Linked DNA regions of Homo sapiens: region 1 is linked to region 2. The links are contacts of gene promoters, found by promoter capture Hi-C in blood cells and fetal thymus (Javierre and others, 2016). All regions are on one chromosome and are shown on one strand. The core of a region is centred on a gene start or on the middle of the fragment in contact, and the rest is flanking DNA. Distances in the headings are between cores, read along the strand shown. Region 1 holds the start of VAMP2 (vesicle associated membrane protein 2). Region 2 overlaps PIK3R5 (phosphoinositide-3-kinase regulatory subunit 5).

Region 1 (3,206 bases), core at 117-2,616, 790 kb after region 2:
GATGTAGTAAGCACCCCCACCCCAGGGCCAAAGGGCCTCGCCTAAAATGCCTCCTGCACCCTTGAGGCTTGCTTTGACCCCCTGCACTCCACCAGAGCGACAGCTCCCCTGGTCCCATCTTCTCTGACAAGCTGGGTGGGAGTGTATACAGCTGCTGGGTGTGCTTAGAGGGCCTAATGGAGACCAGCCAGGGATAATCTCCTATGTTATCCACATCAAGCCATTTAACAAATATGGATTTAGTACCTACATATGCAATGTATTTGGGGTCCAGAGAGAGGAGGGCAACGGTCCAAGGTCACACCTGCGAGGCGAATACGCATGTAAAGCAGCACCTTGTAACCTGTGCCCACTGTGCCTACTACTAAAGAAAAAAAAATGAGAGAAAAAGAAAAAAGGCTTTTTTTTTTTTTTTGGCCCAGGCCCTGTGCCTGGGACCAAAGCCTGAGCCCTTTCCTGCAGTCGGGTCGCTGACCTAAGCCTGGGGCAAAGCTAGGTCTTGGCCAGTCAGCAGCCACCACGTGAAGCAGCCCCTGCCCCCATCACCCCCGGCAGCCTTGTGCCCTCCTCCTCGGGGTCCTCAGCTCACCCCACCTCAGTCGGGCCTGCTCCAGCGGTTAAGTACCCCTAGTCTGAACCTTAATCGTGAGGCGGGGCAGCCCCCTCCCCACACCCTGTAGACACTCCCCCGTCCTCCGCCCCCTGGACTTGTTTGGGCGGGAAGAGCCTGCCTCATCTTTTCTTCCTACCCTCCTACCCAGTGGCCAGGGACCCCAGGCTTCCTCTGAGACATCCACCAGCGGTGATGGGTTGGGACCAATCTCCCCCACTCCTCTCCACCCTAGCAGTAAGGTCCCCGCTCTCGATACTGCCCCAGCACCTGCACTGGCCCTCTCTGATTTCCCAACTCCAGCCCATTCCAAGTGCTGAAGGCGGGTCGCTAGGTGCTGGGACCTGGGCGCGGGGCAAGACCTTGGGCTGTGTGGGGTGCAGGCTGGTTTACTGGGTTCACGATTGAGGGAGTGGTCTGGGGGTTAGGTGTAGGGCCAGGCTGCGTTGTGCTCTAAGGGGCAGGCGGCAGGCGGTTTGGGGGGGCTGTGGTCAGACAGGGTGGGGTGGCGGTGGGTTTGGGGAAGCCGCAGCAGCCCGCCTTGGGGTCCCGCGAGTGCCGAGGGAGCTGCCGGGGCATGGTGGCGCGGGGCCCGTGGTCCTGCCCGGCACGACCCCCGCCCCGCAGCGCCCCGCAGCGCCCCGCCCCCGCGGCCCCGCTCGCGACGCGTCTCCCGCGGCGCCCCGCCCCCGCCCGCAGTGCCCGGATGCGGGTGACGCGCGGCCGCCATCTTTCCGTCCCGGGCAGCCAGCGCCAGTCGGAGCCAGCGCGAGCCGCCGCCGCCATCACTGCCGCTGCCAAGTCCTCCACCCGCTGCCCCCGCCATGTGAGTCGGCCGCCCGCCACCCTCACCGCGCTTCCCTGCGCCGGCCGCCGCCCTTGGCAACCGGCCGTCGGGAGTGCCCGGGGTCTCTCCTGCGTTCCCCGCGCCCCGGGGCCAGGCCCAAGCCGGTGACTGCGCGCGGGCGGCCGAGGAGCCCCGCGTCCCGGGCTGGCCGGCTCGGGCGATGGCCGCGGGAAGGAGCGGACCCAGTGTCCTCCTGCCCCTCCCCGCCCCTGTCACCGCGGCCGCCTGTCTTTTCGGGTCGACCCGGATCGCATCTGTGAGGTCGCCCTCAGTTGACAGGCGGGGAAACTGAGGCCGGGGGGGCCTCGCTCAAGGTCACGCAGCTCATCGGCGGCAGGGCTGGACCGAGACCAGGGCTTACATCGGGTGGCCTTCCTCCCGAAAAGGAGGACTGGAGGGACGAGGATGGACAGGTGGATGGGCGGAGCCCTGGCTGCGGGGCCGGGAGGCTGCAGGCCCTGGGTCTTAATCCGTCCCTGCTCCTCAGGTCTGCTACCGCTGCCACGGCCCCCCCTGCTGCCCCGGCTGGGGAGGGTGGTCCCCCTGCACCCCCTCCAAACCTCACCAGTAACAGGAGACTGCAGCAGACCCAGGCCCAGGTGGATGAGGTGAGTGTGGGGGGAGTCAAAAGCAGTAGGAGGGACCCTGGGGGTTGGCGTATAGGTGTAGGGGCCCATGTTGGTTTGGGAGTGATGACAGTTCACGCCTGTGGGTTTGCGGACAAAGATACCATGCCCCATCCCTGTCTCCCTGTCAGCACGCACTTGGAAGGGCGCTGGGGGTGTTAATCAGCTTTGCTAGCCTGGGGTGTGCCAGCCTGGGCAGGTGTGCTCTGGTGATGGACAGAGCGCCTGAGGTTCCATAGAGGGAGGGTGTTGCTATGACATCTGAGATGTCACCAGCATGCCCCTGATGTGTGCTCCTTGCATGTCCCCAGGTGTGCTAGGCATGTTCTGTGTGTCCTTGGCATGTTAACCTGGCAGTATCAGGGTGCATGTTCCATGTGTGGCACGGTGGGCACATGTTTGAGGATTGCCCTCACTGAGGTGGGCCTTGGCACACCCCCCTGCCTCGTGGGCCCTTCTCCCAGGTGGTGGACATCATGAGGGTGAACGTGGACAAGGTCCTGGAGCGAGACCAGAAGCTGTCGGAGCTGGACGACCGTGCAGATGCACTCCAGGCGGGGGCCTCCCAGTTTGAAACAAGCGCAGCCAAGCTCAAGCGCAAATACTGGTGGAAAAACCTCAAGGTAAGGGTGGGGACAGGAAGGAGGACAGGTGGGTGAATGGGGTATCATAGTTTGTCTTACTGATCCTCGCCTCTCACCCCCAGATGATGATCATCTTGGGAGTGATTTGCGCCATCATCCTCATCATCATCATAGGTGAGTAGGGTGAGAATGGCCGGGGCCCTTTCCCTGGAGAGGTTTCCCCAGTGGATTCTAGGTTTTGAAGGTCATTAATCTAGTTTTTACTCTTCAGCCAAAAACACATATAGCTGCTAATGGCAATTCTGATTCATCTAGAGCCAAAAACTTTGATGTTATTTAGCCTGCATTTTGCCTAGTTCTTGGCAGTCTTGTTAACATTTGGAAATAGGAAAGCTGGTGTATCCATTGAGGACCCTTTAGGCCTAAGAGCCCAGTCTGAGAACCCTGGAATTGAGGAGTGGGAGAAAGGAAAGGACCAGGGGCTTGAGACATGACCAGGAAGCCAACCACCCCATTATTTGAGAGCTTGCGGTCTCAGA
Region 2 (3,052 bases), core at 349-2,848:
TGGCTAATTTTTGTATTTTTAGTAGAGACGGGGATTCACCATGTTGGCCAGGCTGCTCTCGAACTCCTGGCCTCAAGTGATCCACCAGCCTTGGCCTCCCAAAGTGCTGGGATTATAGGAGTGAGCCACCGCATCCCACCTTTCTTTAGGATTTTTGCATGAAATGAATTTGACCTCTATTTTCCTTTTCTGTGCTGCCGTTGTCAGTTTTTGATATACTGACTTTGCAAATGATTTTGGAAGCACGTTACCTTCTCCCACGCCCTGTGACAGCTTATAGAGCGGGGAATGAGCTGCTCCTTGGAAGCTGGGAGAACGGCTCCAGTCTTGAGGTCTTCCACTGTGGGATTCTTGGCTTCCCACTCCCCAAGCTTCCTTCTCTTCTCTCTTCCTCAGTCCTCCCAGGTACAAATCTGTAAACCTCAGAGCTCCCAGGCTCATGCCCGAGAGCCATCTTTGATTCTTGGCTTCCAATGTTCAGCCACTAGGTCCCATGGGTCCTTACTTTATATGCCCTTCAGCTAACAAGCATGCCTATTTCCACACTGAACTGGGCATATCCACCTTGAGTGAATTCCAGGTGCTGCATTTGGAGGATGCTGAGCAACCACTTCATATCCAGAGATAGGTGACCAGGATAGCGATGACAGAATATGAAGTAATTAAGAAGTAGCGAGGTTTTTCTCCAAGAAGAGAAGACAGAGGAGAAGTAGTATCTGTCTTCAGATGTTTGACGAGCAGTGTCCTTTGAAAAAGGTGAAGACTTCTCAACTGGGTGTCATTCTCTGGAATGGAAAAGGGATGACAGAAGGAAAATTGTAAGAAAATAGACTCCAGCTCACTAGAAGGAAGATCTCAGAGAAATTCAGAGCAGGTCAACAGTGGAATGGGAGGCTTCGTGGTGGCTAGTTTCCCGTTGGGGAAGTATGCAGGGAAAATACATGTTATATATTATGGAAATGATAGCCGTGAGAAAGGAGACCAATATAGCTTATTTTTAAAGAGCCTGTAGTTCTCTAAATCATGGTGGCCATGTCTGACTGGTTGTGTAAACGCTGGTTGTTCTGAGAACATGATTTGAGTTTGAGTAGTTCAGTGACCTTGAATAAACAGGTCCCAAAGCTGGGCAGTTTGCTCAGAAACCCCACAGCCCTGCTTCACAGCCCGTTCTCCGCAGCAGAAGCACCTTGGCTGTGAGAAAACCATAGCCATTCATGGATACTGGGATCCTCGCCCACATCCTCTGCTGGGAGCATGGGCTTTTCTTGAGGTCTCTTGTTCTTGGCTCCTTCTGATACTTGGTAAAATAAACTAATTGAACACCATTTCAAAATTGCCTTCCTCCGTGAGTGTCCCAGATAAGATCTTGGGGCCAACCTATCTCACCTCCAGGTTGAGCTGGGAATTGATGTCCTCTTGTTCTTGGGGTTTTCACGTCAATGTTTCATAGGTCTTTGCACTGTGCATTCACTTCTGTACCATGTTGAGAGTTTCATTTTGAGAAAACGAAAAGCTCTGCGCTCTCCTTGGCCTGTTATTGTGCTTAAGAGAACACAGGGGGCTGTGATGTGATGTACGGGCTACAGGATGGGAATAGGAGATGTAATCTCTAGTCCTGGCCCCTAATTACTTCCTCATCTTGCTGAGTCTGTTTCCTCCTGGACCAACTGGACTCTATGATTCTGACCACCTGGGAGTTTTCAAAGCCTGCTCTCCAAGAGTTTTCTTGTGGGAGCTGCTCTGATGGGCTGAGCAGAGAGGGGACCTGCTCCTTCCCTCATGGTGCCACCTTATGACAGGACTCCCAGTGACTATGAGTCCCTCTTCAGACCTCAATGGCAGAAACCCACCCTCTAGCCCATGCTTCTGCTGGAAGGCTTCCTTTCAGGTCACTGGTGGCTCTGGAATGGCAAGTTCCAATAGTCTCTTCCCAACCTGCATCTTTTTTTTTTTTGAAGTCTCCATAAAGTCTGATGCCCGACAAATTTTTGTTTTATTTTTTATTTTTGAGAAAGGGTCTCACTCTGTCACCCAGACTGGAGTACAGTGGCACGATCACAGATCACTGTAGTGTCAACCTCCCCAGGCTCAGATGATCCTCCTGCCTCAGTCTCCTGAGTAGCTGGGACTACAGGTGTATGCCACCACGCCCAGCTAATTTTTTGTGTGTGTTTTTTGTAGAGACAGGGTCTCACTATGTTGCCCAGGCTGTTCTCAAACTCCTGGGCTCAAGTGATCTACCTGCTTCGGCCTCCAAGTACATGCGGGTTATTTTCACTTGATGCCCTATTTCAACTTGAGCAATATCCAGAGCCCAACTCTGCATCCACAAAGCAGGCTTCCTGTGCAGACTTCCCCATTTCTGTCTCTGCTGAAACCAGACTCCCAGCCTTGAAACCTTGGACTCATCTCCGAGTCCTCCCTCCATCTTCCTTGTTCCCCACTCCCCAGCCCGTTTTGATGGTGCTTCCTTTCTCCATGGCTCTTGTTTCTCTCACTTCCCCATTGTTCTCTCTCCTACCCAATTTGGCTTTATTTACCATATGCCTCTGGTGGGCCTTTTGGACCACAGGCTCTTCCTCTCTTCACCAGGAGATTCTTCTTATGAAAACTTCTATGTCACTGTGTTCAGATACTTTGATGGCACCCCACTGCTTAGGGAGAGTCCAGAGTCCTTAGTCTTCTGTTCAGGTTTCGAAGTTGAGTCCCACTCCTTTCTCCACGAATCATCACGCTCTCCTCCAGCCAGACTGCCTGACTCAGTTTTCCCAAGACCTAACGTGTGTTCTTGCCTCACTCATCCCCTTCCCAATGAGGGAAGCTTTCCAATCATTTTGTTCAGTGCTGACTCTCCAGTGCCTTGCAGGGGCCAGCACTTGTCATTCAATCAGTGCTTGCTGAATGAGTGATTGCCTGGTCGAGCAGCCAGCATGGAAGAGGCCCGGGCCTCAGCCTTGGATGACTGATGATCGGGCAGGCTGGGCTGCTCCCCATCTGAGACCTCTGTGGGGTTCGGTCATCCTCCCCTCAAGGACCCTCCAGACATATCACT

The links. The method cuts DNA at HindIII sites, captures the fragments that hold promoters and counts their contacts. A CHiCAGO score of 5 or more calls a contact.
Region 1: the fragment with the promoter of VAMP2 here is called in contact with a fragment that was not itself captured in region 2 in 1 of 17 cell types (naive CD8 T cells); the score reaches 5.6 in naive CD8 T cells.

What each region holds. Positions count from the first base shown.
Region 1 is chr17:8,161,108-8,164,313 of GRCh38, reverse strand. It overlaps VAMP2 (vesicle associated membrane protein 2), which reads left to right and starts at 1,366. Exons shown (of 5, transcript NM_014232.3): 1 at 1,366-1,436; 2 at 1,945-2,065; 3 at 2,548-2,706; 4 at 2,790-2,841. The coding sequence starts at 1,435. RefSeq lists silencers at 999-1,058, 1,189-1,288, 1,449-1,638, 1,929-2,038 and an enhancer at 2,149-2,198. The HindIII fragment of the contact is 9,788 bases long and covers 1-3,206 here.
Region 2 is chr17:8,955,117-8,958,168 of GRCh38, reverse strand. All of the region lies in intron 1 of PIK3R5 (phosphoinositide-3-kinase regulatory subunit 5), which reads left to right. Among named protein-coding and RNA genes, the nearest start is that of PIK3R5, 9.1 kb to the left of the region's middle. RefSeq lists enhancers at 2,486-2,985, 2,986-3,052. The HindIII fragment of the contact is 2,450 bases long and covers 374-2,823 here.